Linked DNA regions of Homo sapiens: region 2 is linked to region 1. The links are contacts of gene promoters, found by promoter capture Hi-C in human tissues and cell types (Jung and others, 2019). All regions are on one chromosome and are shown on one strand. The core of a region is centred on a gene start or on the middle of the fragment in contact, and the rest is flanking DNA. Distances in the headings are between cores, read along the strand shown. Region 1 holds the start of F2R (coagulation factor II thrombin receptor). Region 2 overlaps S100Z (S100 calcium binding protein Z).

Region 1 (6,172 bases), core at 108-2,607:
GCTGCGGCTGAGCTTTCCTAGAAACAGCTATTTGGGGACCCATTTCCTGTTGGAGTCTGAAAGGCGCACGCACCAGAGCCAGTGGCAAAGCAACTTAAGCTGCAGGCTCCTCCTGCCCACCCCCAGCCGCGACGCCCCTGGGGGCCCTTAGCAGACTGCCAAGCGAGTGTCCCCGCCCTGTGCCTTGAATTTAGCCAAACTCCTTTAATATCAGGCCTGGCGCGGTGATTCACGCCTGTAATCCCCGCACTTTAGGAGGCTGAGGCAGGAGGATCGCTTGAGGCCAGCAGTGAAATTAGCCGGACATGGTGGCGCGCGCCTTTCTGTGGTCCCAGGTAATCCGGAGGCTGGGGCGAAAGGGTGGCCTGAGCCAGGGAGATCGAGGCTGCAGTGAGCCGTGTTGGCGCCACTGCACTCCAGCCTGGGCGACAGGGCAAGACCCTGCCTCAAAAACAAAACAAACTGTAATATCGTTCAAGAACGTGTGAAGGACACTTGGAAAGTTACCAGGCCATTTCTCTCCTGGGCGCCCGCGGCCCTAGAACGCCGGCCTCACCGGCAGACGCGCGCCCTCCTCCCAGATGCGCAGGTGACCCCGGCGGGCGGCGCGGGAAAGGGAAGAGCTCCGCGAGGCCGCGCGGGGGGGAAGCGGGAGAAGCCGCTCTTCCTATTCCACTCGCAGTCTGCGTGTGGGGGAAACGAGTGCCCGGCGTATGAAACGCCTAACTTCGCGAAATAAAGAGAGACGTATAAAAGTTCAAGAATTCTGTCCAGACTCAAGGGCCCTTTCTCATTTAGGGGCAACCCTGTCACTACATCATAAACTTTTAAATCCGTGATCCCCACGTTACAAAAGCAGAAGTCCCTTTTAGACTTTTAGCGAAAACTGAACTTTGCCGGTGTCCCACACGGAGGGAGGGAGGACGGGAGGCCACGCCAGGGCTGCGGGGCTGCAGGGCGTGGACGCATCCTGGCCGGGGCGTCCACTGTCGACGTCTCCACATCCCAGGAGGGTCGAGACGGCCGCGGGAAGCAGCCTGCGAGCCGTGCGGCCCCATTCCAAGGACCCCGCCAGTGTGAGTCACTGACAGCTTCGCGAATCAACGGTGCCCAGAGGAAAAAACTTCTCATTTGGACTTCTAGGCCCGGCAGTGGCCGGCGGCCAGGGCCCCCCAGTAGGGCAGGGCGGGGCGGGGCGGGGCGCACAGAGCCAGAGGGGCTTGCGAGCGGCGGCTGAGGGACCGCGGGGAGGGGGCGCCGAGCGGCTCCAGCGCAGAGACTCTCACTGCACGCCGGAGGGCGCCCTTCCTCGCTCGCGCCCGCGCGACCGCGCGCCCCAGTCCCGCCCCGCCCCGCTAACCGCCCCAGACACAGCGCTCGCCGAGGGTCGCTTGGACCCTGATCTTACCCGTGGGCACCCTGCGCTCTGCCTGCCGCGAAGACCGGCTCCCCGACCCGCAGAAGTCAGGAGAGAGGGTGAAGCGGAGCAGCCCGAGGCGGGGCAGCCTCCCGGAGCAGCGCCGCGCAGAGCCCGGGACAATGGGGCCGCGGCGGCTGCTGCTGGTGGCCGCCTGCTTCAGTCTGTGCGGCCCGCTGTTGTCTGCCCGCACCCGGGCCCGCAGGCCAGGTGAGAGATGCACGGGAATGGGGTGCGCGGGCGGAGGGACGCCGAGGGGAGACTGCGGGGGTCACTGTTGCGCCTTCTCCTCACCCCTGCCTCAGTTTCCTCCGAAAGCCAAACTGGCATTTGGGCTGAGATCTGGAGTTTTTTCCAGTCACGTTTAGGTGGGGCGTGCCACCCCCTTCGCGGGCCCAGCCGATGCCCCTTTGGACTCGATCTTGGAGGGTGCAGCCCGCCTGCCACGGGGTGTTGGATATGGAGGAGGATGGAGCGGAAGCCCCCTGGGGGAGCCTGCAGTCCTGCGTTGCACTTGTCATTGTGTTTCTCCCAGGACCACCCCCAAAAAGAAAAGCTCTCACGTTGCTCCACCAATAAACGTTTCGATCTTTAAAATATAAAGTGGCGAACCGCTGCCGCTGAAGTTTTGCTTTGTTGGAAGTTTTTTTCTTGCACATTTTACAGGCGAGAAAAGTGATGTAGAGAAAAGCCCAGGCAGTCCCTTGGCATGTTTAGCAGAGAATCAGTACCAGCAGCCCCCGGCCCGGCCTTGTGTCCAGGAGGTGCGCAGGGTGCGAGATATATGGTGACAATAGCAGAGGCTCCGCGTGGTGGCGGGGGAGGGGACATGGAGAGGATTTTGTTGTTACCTAGAACCCATTCCTTCTAAGTGAGTTGAAGAGAGAGATCCCTCCCCAGGACCGGGCTCCCTCGAACACTGTGGGATCCCAGTATTTCTTAACGAGATTTCTGATCCACTGCAAGAAGGTTGCTCCCCTAGAATATTTTCCCCACTAGTAGTCTATTTTTAAGTATCTGGCCACTTGACCAAATAAATAAATTTGATTAATTTATTTGGTCAAATATTTTCTGTATCCCTTTCCCCAAGAGCAGCACAGATGAGTTGTTTTTAGCCTGTAAAGGCGCTAATTAGAAAGTGAGAAAAGTGTTTTTGAATTTCCTAATAACAATAGTATTTTATAAGCTTTGAGCCATTTTTTTTACGCTGAAAGAAGTTCTAGCGGGTTTTCTTGTTATCGCTAAAAGAATGTGCACTCTATATTGCTCCCACACTCAAAAAAAAGTGTAGACACATCAAGATTAAGAGGTGACAAAGACATAGCATGTTCTCGCCTCTCTGTCTTTGTTCAGGGTGAGTTTTGAGATGCTTTTGGGAAAACTAAGAGCTCCAGACTGGGGCCCAGTGTTTAGCAGTAACTAGCCTGCCTGCAGATAAGTGAGCATTGTTGCCGAAAGTGTTTGAGAGAACACCGAGAACTCCTGAAAAATTGTTTGCGATGAGATATGATTTCACATACCATTATGTAATTTGCACAATGTAGTTTGAGGACACGCTCTTGAGAATCCAGTGTTTTGTTTGAGATTTGGATCATGGGGTGGAGAACAGAGCTTATAGAAATGCTGCACCCTTTCTCACAGTGGCCTCCCAGCAAGGTGTGTAGCCTCATTAGGGAGTGAAGTCAAAGCGTACTGGTTTCTGCCAAGCTTCTTACATCCTCATGGCAGGAGTGGTGCATGTTAATATGGACAGTGCTGGTGTAGACAGAAAGGCAGGTGGATGAACTTGGCTAGTTTATCAACACTGGATTCTGGAACCACTTTGGGAGGGAAAGAAGAAAGGAGTATGATAGAGGAAAAGGAGCGCTTGCTAAGTGCCATATTCCATGTCAAGCCCTGGGCCAGAAGGAATTTTCACTTGGATTGTCTCATTTCACCTTGTCAAAACACCTTGTTAAGGTGGGTATTTATCCCCTTTTGCTGATTCTGCAACTAAGACCCAGAGACAGCGGCTAAGCAAGTGGTGGCGGGTGGGGCAGGGAAGGGGCAGTCCACCCACCCTGGGTGCAAGCAATTAGGAATAAGTGGGGCTTTGTCTTTAGAAAATTTAAAATCACTAATAAAATCAACCCAAGATAGGTTTACTTTCTATTACCACCATGCATTGACAATTCTAAGCATTGTCTGTCATAAGGTAGTGGTGCTGGGACTCTGAGGCATCCAACAGTGCCTCCCATCCTTGAACCGCCACCGCTGTGATAGAGTTTATTGTCCAGGATTACCAGCTCTGTGTGCCAAGAGGGGCGGTGAAGCCCTCCCAGGGCTGGCCCTGACCACCAAGCTGAGCCTTCCTCCAGCACTTCCCGACTTTTTGTTCCCACTCATTTTGGCATTTCCTGCCTTGTCACTTTGTGTGTGTGTCTCATTCTCCCAACTAAGATTATAAAGTTTTATTTATCCCCATGGTGACTAAAACAAATGTTCACTCAGCAGATAGTTGTTGAGAAATGTGTAAATTCATCAACCAGTTTACATTCGTCTAGACAATTTAAGTGAGATGATATGTGATCATTAAAAGGGCCAACATCCAAGAGTAAAAGGTGATGTTTATAAATTTTATGGGGCTCTAGAGGGTTAAAGTGTTCAAGAATAGCTGGTGGTGACTATGACAGAGAGAACTTGGTGGGCAATTCCACTTGCTACCCTCCTACTCACAGAGTCAAGCCCAATTCTCTGGCATGGAATGAAGTGCTCCTCCCCTTGCAGGAGGGTCCCCAGCCCCTCTCCAGCCATCTCCTATTACTCACCCTCCAGTTCACCCAGCCCCATCCTCTAGATCCTCCCTTCAAGGAGCTATGCTTTCTCTGGCTTCTGTCCGCATGCCACTCCCTCTGGCCAGAATGCCCTCCCCATATCCCATACCCGCCACGTTCATGTTTAATTAAAAACAGCTACCCTCTGTGGAGTACTGACTACAGCTGACATCCTTCTTAGGGACGTTACAATACTATCTTATTTATTTCTCACAACAGCCCTTTGAGTAGATGTCATCCTCATTTTACTGGTTATAAAACAGAGACCCAGAATGGTTAAGTCACAAGTTGAGAAAGAGGTGGAATTGGGACTGGGTGCGGTGGCTCATGCCTGTAATCCCAGCACTTTGGGAGGCCAAAGCAGGGGGATCACTTGAGGCCAGGAGTTTGAGACCAGCCTGACCAACATGGTGAAACCCTGTCTCTACTAAAAATACAAAATTAGCTGGGTATGGTGGTGCACACCTGTAGTCACAGCTACTTGGGAGGCTGAGGCACCAGAATTGCCTGAACCTGGAAGGCAGAGGTTGCAGGGAACTGAGATTGTGCCACTGCACTCCAGTCTGAGCAACAGAGTGAGACTCTCTCTCAAAAAAAAAAAGAGGTGGAATTGGGAGTTGACCACAGGCCTGTCTCTCCGAAGTGCAGGCTTTCTCTAACACCCCCTATAGAAAGGAAGCCATCTAGACTCCCAGCACCTCTTACAGTAGAGAAGTAACCCCACTGTGCTCCCTAGTACAGTATGGATTTACCTATTTTTGATAATTCATCAAAATATAGAAGCAAAGTCTGTGCCCTATCGCCTTGGTAGCTCAGGCCCAGCACAGGGAGGTATTTAGTGAGCATTTATGCACGGACTGTGGTATTCTCTCATTTACTTTCGCTAACAGATGATAAGGCAGGCTCTGAAAAGATCCCTGCTCATGAATACACTAATTAATCAGATGTTACAAGAGATATTGCTAGTAAACCTAAACAGAAAGACAGAAAACTGAGCAGTGGTTCTACCGTAAGCAGACCAGAAAGCTCTATAAAGCCTGAAAGTCAGATTTCTTATGAGTCAGCAAGTAATTTTCTGCCCTACTATCTATCTATCTATCTATATCTAATAATTTTTAGTGGCTTTGCCTTTATTTTTATAGAACATACCAGCATAGCAGGTTCTCAGGGTCTGGGTGCAGTGGCTCACACCTGTAATCCCAGCACTTTGGGAACCCTAGGCCAGATGATCGCTTGAGACCAGCCTAGGCAACATAGTAAGACCCCATCTCTATTAAAAAAAATAATTAAAAAGTAGCCAGGCACTGTGGTGTGCACCTGTAGTCCCAGCACTTGGGAGACTGGGAGGATGGCCTGACCCAGGAGTTCAAGGTGGCAGTGAGCCATGGTCACGTGACTACACTCCAGCCTGGGCAACAGAGTGGGAGAGACGCTGTCTTCAAAATATTTAATAAATGAAAATTTTAAATTTAAATTAATCATTTAAATTTAAAAAATAAAATAATAAAATTGAGGTAGAATTCACATAACATAAAATTAACCATTTTAAAGTATACAATTCATTGGTATTTAGTACATTTACAGTGTACAATGTACACTGTAAACCCCTACCTACTTCCAAAATCCTGTCATTTCCCCGAAAGGAAACCAGTAAGCAGTCAGATCCCATTCTCCCTTCCCCTACCCCCAGGAACCACCAGTTTGCCTTTTTTCTCTATGGATTTACCTATTTTTGATATTTCATATCAATAGAATCATATAATATGTGGTCTTAGTGTCTGGGGAACTTAACTTTAGGTGGGTTAAAGTTGTTGTTGCTGTTTTTTTGAGACAGGGTCTAGGTGTCTTACTCAGGCTGGAGTGCAGAGGCACAAATTTGGCTCACTGCAACCTCTGCCTCCCAGGCTCAAGCTATCCTCCTAACTCAGCCTCCAGAGTAGCT
Region 2 (6,427 bases), core at 2,084-4,583, 160 kb after region 1:
GGAGGATCACTTGAGCCCAGGAGTTTGAGACCAGCTTGGGCAGCATAGTGAGACCTCATCTCTAAAAAAAGTAAAAAATAAAAAATTAACCAGGAATGGTGGTGTGCACCTGTGTGTGGTCTCAGCTATTCAGGAAACTGAAGTGGGAGGATTGCTTGAGCCTGGGAGTTCGAGGCTGCAGTGAGCCATTATTGCACCACTGCACTCCAGTCTGGGTGACAGCGGGAGACCCTATCTCAAAAATAAATAAATAATGAACTAAATTGTAACCTGCCACCTTGGGCATACCTTCTTAGGACCTCTTGAGACAGTTCCCTGGGCCGTGGTCACTCATATCGGCTCAAAATAAACCTCTTTAAGTATTTCACAGAGACAATGTAAGGTGGCTAAAGCCTGTAATCCCAGCACTTTGGGAGGCCAAGGCAGGAGGATCACTTGAGGCCAGGAGTTTGACACCAGCCTGGGAAACATAGGGAGACCCCATATCTACAAAAATAAAAAAATTAGTCAGGCATGATAACATGTGCCTGTTGTCCCAGCTACTCAGGTGGCTGAAGCAGGAGGATCGCTTGAGCCTGGGAGGTTGAGGTGCAGTGAGCCATTACTGGGCCACTGCATTCCAGCATGGGTGACAGAGCAAGACTCTGTCTTAAAAAAATAAATAAAATAAGGCTGGGTGCAGTGGCTCACACCTGTAATCCCAGCATTTTGGGAGGCCAAGGCAGGCGGATTGCGTGAGCTCAGGAGTTCAAGACCAGCCTGGGCAACATGGCAAAACCCCATCTCTACTACAAATACAAAAATAAAAATAAAAATTAGCCAGGCATGGTGGTGTGAACCTGTAGTCCCAGCTACTTGGGAGGCTGAGATGGAAGAATTGTCTGAGCCCAGGAGGTCGAGGCTGCAGTGAGCTGTGATGGCACCACTGCACTCCAGCCTGGGCAACCAGAGTCAGACCTTGCCTCAAAAATAATAATAAATAAATAAATAAAATAAATATTGTATAGAGTTTGTTTTTTCCATTCTGAGTAGGTGCTATGGTCATCCCCATTTAGACTAATGGGGAAAATGCAGCATAGATGCTAATTGACCAGCACAGGATCACACAACTAGTGGCAGAGGTGAGAGGTAAAGCCAGGCAGTTCATGCTTTTAGCCACCATGATACTGCCTCCCACACAGGAAAAATTTACAAAGGGTAATTACTAGGGTAGGGAATGGTGAGAGAGAATTTTACTATTTCATACTCCTAAGTATTCAAAATATTATTTTACCTATATTACTTTGACAATAAAAACTAACAATTTTTTTTTTTTTTTTGAGACGGAGTCTCACTGTCACCCAGGATGGAGTGCAGGGACGTGATCTTGGCTCATTGCAACCTCCACCTCCTGGGTTCAAGCAATTCTCCTGCCTCAGCCTCCCGAGTAGCTGGGACTACAGGCGTGCACCACCATATCCAGTTAATTTTTGTATTTTTAGTAGAGACAGGGTTTCACCATTTTGGTCAGGGTGGTCTCGAACTCCTGACCTCAAGTGATCTGCCTCCCAACGTGCTGGGATTACAGGATTGAGCCACTGTGCCCAGCCTGAATATGTTTGAAAATTTTGTGTTAGGTGTACAGTGAACACCTCCTGGGAACCTTGCAGGGAGGTTGCAGTGGAGTAGCCAGGCAGCAAGGCCAGGGGCAGATGGGATGGTTGAGGTTACATACTGACTACTTTGTTGAAGGGAAATAAAAAGGAGATCCTGGCTTGCTTTCCGTATAATTAAGTTTCAGTCCTGAGAGAACAGGCAGGATTTAAAAGCACAGTGGCCAATATCTGGCTTTGGTTTTTACATGGACTCTTTCTTTATTAAGTTTCTCTCACTTGGAAATCTGTTGTGGATTCCTGCACACACAGCTGCTCTGAGGTTTATTTCAACTTTTTTATTAGGTAATACATTCCTATAACTGAAAAAGTTAAAATCACTTAAAAAGGTGTACACTGGGAAGTCTTACTCCCAACCACTCTGTTCTACCCTTTCCCCCCTTACCCCTGACAGCTCCCAACATAGTATTATATTTTGTTTCCTTTCAGTGACTCCTTAGGTAACTGCAAGCACACATACACATGTATTATTTCTTTTTTACACAGTTGGGAGCACTGCTTTGTACCTTTCTAAATCAGTGCGTGGAGCACTTCCTCTTTTTTTTTTTTTTTCAACTGTCCTTTGGGTTAGTTTAATCTACTATGAATTTACTCCCTTGTCCTTGCTATTGGCTTTGCTGAGTCATCTCCAGGTTGGAACTAGTGTTTCTTCTTTGCTCCCCTATTTTTAGAGTTCTTCCCCATCATCAGCTTCCTAGCAACTAATTGCATTTCTATCCACACTCCCCTAAAGAGAGATAAGGCTTCCTCTTGCTTTGTCTTTGCCTTCTTATCTAATGCACCCAATGAGCACTAGCCTTCTTCAATGACCCTTGGGGCAGCAGCTCACACCTGTTCATTTTGGTGATTAAATACGGAGCAGAGGCACCTCCCTTTGAATCTCTTGTCACTGGCAATTTTCATCTTCCCGGAAACAGGTGTGCTGGGGAGAACGTTTCCCCCTCCCCCACGTATAAATGCTTATAGTTTAATGGTAAACAACCATTGACAGAGCTGTGTATCTGTTGAACAGGTAGGTATTTTCCTTCCTATTTTTATTTATTTTTAAATTCTATATTTTAGTTTGACTTTGTACCTGTTACCTGGTTGTCTTATGAATATGCTGGAGCTGCTACCTCTTGGGGGTGTAGGGATTAGCGAGGAGAAACAACTCAGCTGCGAAGTGCTTATTTGCAGCTTGCCCCAGCAAGGGTGGAACACTCTTTAATGAAAGACTATTATTATTATTAATTTTTTTTTTTTGAGACGGCGTCTCGCTCTGTCGCCCAGGCTGGAGTGCAGTGGCGCGATCTCGGCTCACTGCAAACTCCGCCTCCCGGGTTCACGCCGTTCTCCTGCCTCAGCCTCCTGAGTAGCTAGCTGGGACTACAGGCGCCCGCCGCCGCGCCCGGCTAATTTTTTTTTGTATTTTTAGTAGAGACGGGGTTTCACCGTGTTAGCCAGGATGGTCTCGATCTTCTGACCTTGTGATCCACCCATCTCTGCCTCCCAAAGTGCTGGGATTACAGGCTTGAGCCACCGCGCCTGCGCAGACTATTATGTTTTTAACAACCATCACTTGTGTGGCGAGCTGACTCGGGGGATTGTAATATTCTGTTTTAATGAAAGTGTTGGTGTTTCCTCATCTGTTTATTCTGAACAAGTGTCTTCTCCCCGGGTTTGGTGGCCTGCTTCTGGAGTGGTCAGTTCTGCTGCCGACATGCCCACCCAGCTCGAGATGGCCATGGACACCATGATTAGAATCTTCCACCGCTATTCTGGCAAGGAAAGGAAGAGATTCAAGCTCAGCAAGGGGGAACTGAAACTGCTCCTGCAGCGAGAGCTCACGGAATTCCTCTCGGTGAGTCAGGCCTTTGTAAATGCTGTATTCATTTGAGGGTAGATGAGGTGCAGATTCCAGGACAGCCTTTGGGTTCATACTGTCCTGTGATTCTGTCACAAATGCAGCCAAATTTGTACAGAGATTCAAAATATAGGGGAAGCAAACACTGGAGACGTTTGTTTTCTGTGTACATAGGCATGTGCCCTTTTTCGTGTTACCTGGGGTTAGGGTTTCTAAGTGGTAAAAATTGTATTTTTGACTTTCACCAATTAACATTCTGGTGCGGCAAAGATGTAGCTAATTATAGCCAGAGTTATAGTTATAACTAGTTACAGCTAGTTATACCTGGAGCTTGGTCCAGCTGTCTGTAAATTATGTATTGGGCCAGAGGTGAAGGGGTACTTTACCTTCAGAGGTGGGGTACTTCATGCTATGGTGGCAAATTTTCTAGTGAATGGCAAATACTTAGAGAGCTTTGTCAGCCGAGCACAGACTGATTGGGATTGATAGAAGGATGTGTTTGGCCAGTGACCAGTGGGGTAGCAAACAGATTCATTTCTCAAAATAGCCAGGAGTTTGAGAGATTAATATATGAAGCCGTACATTGTAGCGTTTGGGGCCTCCTCCAAGGAAAACACTTCACGCTGGTGTTTATAGAGTTGACTTAAACTGATTTTTAGCACAATATGCTACCCTCGTGTGATGTTATTCTCTCCAAACCTTGTGTTAAGACTACAGAGACTGTTAATTACAACACATGTTTCTCCCCACCCTCTATTTGGGAAAAGCTCTATAAAGTATTTTTTAACTTAGTCTTCACGACATTTTTATAGTGATCTTAGAATTCCCACAAACTTTTCTTTTCCTCTCATTCCGTTTGGCTACTGTATTTTTTTTTTTTTCGGAGATGGAGTCTTGCTGTGTCTCCTAGGCCGGAGTGCAGTGACACGATCTCGGCTCACTGCAATCTCCACCTCCCAGGTTCGAGTGATTCTTGTGCCTCAGCCTCCGGAGTAACTGGGATTACAGGCATGCACCACGACACCCAGCTAAGTTTTTTGTATTTTTAGTAGAGACAGAGTGTCACTATGTTGGCCAGGCTGGTCTCGAACTCCTGACCTCAAGTGATCTGCCTGCCTCGGCCTCCCAAAGTGCTGAGATTACAGGCGTGAGCCACTGTGTGGGGCCAACTTTGGCTACTGTACTGTTTAACATTTAGCATAAAAACTCAGTAGGTCAAACTTCGCACATTTATTTAATCAAGTACAATTTATAATTGTTTTAATCAAGTTGGTTTTGATCAATTAAGTTTTTCTCTGACCATTTAATGGTTAGCAGAAAATGAGGGGGGCATGGGGATTTCCTGGAGGAAATGAACTGCTTTTGGAAACACTCCTCATCAACACCAGTCACAGGAGAGGTGGGTGCTTCACAGTTCCAACCTTCGTGAACCTTGTCTTCCCTCTTCTCTTTGCTTTCCACCCATAAAATGCAGGCATCTTTATAAGACCTACCTTTCTTTGGGTGCCTCTCTTCTGTGTGTCAGGCACACTGTGCTAAGTAGGCTGCCAGATAAAATATTTTGTGTCCTATACAATACTTGAGACATACTAAAACTAAAAGTTATTTGTTGTTTATTTGAAATTCAAATTTAACTAGGTATCTAGTATTTTTATTTGCTAAATCTAGCGACCCTGGTGCTCTAAGCACTTTCAAAAGTGTGATGAAGTATCCCTGAAATGTGTGGATAGAAATTATCCTCCCAATTTTATAAATAAAAGCATTTAAAATGTTACGCGATTTGCTCAAATTCGCTCGTTGGTATTTTTCTCCTTTTTGGCTTCAAATCCTCCCTCTTTCTATGTCACTCGACTATCTCCTAGTGTCCTGGCTCTCAACCTGTGATGTCCTGTAAATGTGTTTTTAGCAACAGTCACTCACTTTGATCAGCTGCTGTTTGCTTTTCTTGGTTTCTAGGTCTGAGCCAGGATTATATGGAGCTGGGGCAGGGGGCTAGATTCGTTTAGAATTCGTGGCTGGTTTACACCTACCTGTAAATAGGTTCTTAGAAAATGTCTTTAGATGCTATAAATGGAAATTAGGAATTTAATGTAAATAAAAGGAAGATGAATTTCAATTGTCATCATGAACCTCAGAGCCAGGGAGTTAGAAATTTCCTTTCTCATTTTAGTGCCAAAAGGAAACCCAGTTGGTTGATAAGATAGTGCAGGACCTGGATGCCAATAAGGACAACGAAGTGGATTTTAATGAATTCGTGGTCATGGTGGCAGCTCTGACAGTTGCTTGTAATGATTACTTTGTAGAACAATTGAAGAAGAAAGGAAAATAAAGGTAAGTAATAAGCTCATCTAAAGGCAGAAATATATCCAAAGTTATGTACTTAATGTTCATTTATACCGTTCAGATCTATAGACCCAGTAATGTCATTTATAGCTATAATATCCAGTGCATATATTAATAATTAATTGCTACTATTGAATTATGTGCCCCTTAAAATATTGACTTTATGTAGATATTCTAAATCTCATATGCCCTACTTGAAACTTGCCTGTATTATTAAGAGGCTATATGCATCTTTTTGGTTTGTCAAAACGAGGGCATTACAAAAATTTAGCTACTTTCAAATGAGACTTGAATTTGGCAAATTTCTAAGATGGACATTCATATCCTTAAATTGTATTTTGAACTTCTTACCCTATTAAAAAAAATTAACTGGGTTTCCTCATTCTCTTGTGACTGTGTTTCAGATGGAAGGTGTGAGGGTCTATGAGCAGAAAGGCGGCTAAGCAGAAGTGCTGGCTTTTTCAGTGATTTCGTCAGGGAATGGATAGGTTCAGGGCTAGGTGGTCAAGCCGAGAGAGCTGAAGCCAGCAGCTCTTGTGAGCTGGCATATAAATACCCTCCTTTGCCCCTTGGGTTGGATAATTCTGAG

What was found. The method cuts DNA at HindIII sites, captures the fragments that hold promoters and counts their contacts. A contact is called where the count stands out against the background at its distance.
Region 2: a fragment that was not itself captured here is called in contact with the fragment with the promoter of F2R in region 1 in 1 of the 25 tissues and cell types used here (H1 embryonic stem cells).

The regions. Positions count from the first base shown.
Region 1 is chr5:76,714,769-76,720,940 of GRCh38, forward strand. It overlaps F2R (coagulation factor II thrombin receptor), which reads left to right and starts at 1,358. Exons shown (of 2, transcript NM_001992.5): 1 at 1,358-1,627. The coding sequence starts at 1,540. RefSeq lists a silencer at 1,164-1,413 and enhancers at 3,207-3,707, 3,708-4,208. The HindIII fragment of the contact is 3,629 bases long and covers 1-2,863 here.
Region 2 is chr5:76,872,009-76,878,435 of GRCh38, forward strand. S100Z (S100 calcium binding protein Z) reads left to right here. Exons shown (of 5, transcript NM_130772.4): 3 at 3,296-3,492; 4 at 5,666-5,826. The coding sequence starts at 3,352. The coding sequence ends at 5,824. Among named protein-coding and RNA genes, the nearest start is that of S100Z, 25 kb to the left of the region's middle. The HindIII fragment of the contact is 9,432 bases long and covers 1-6,427 here.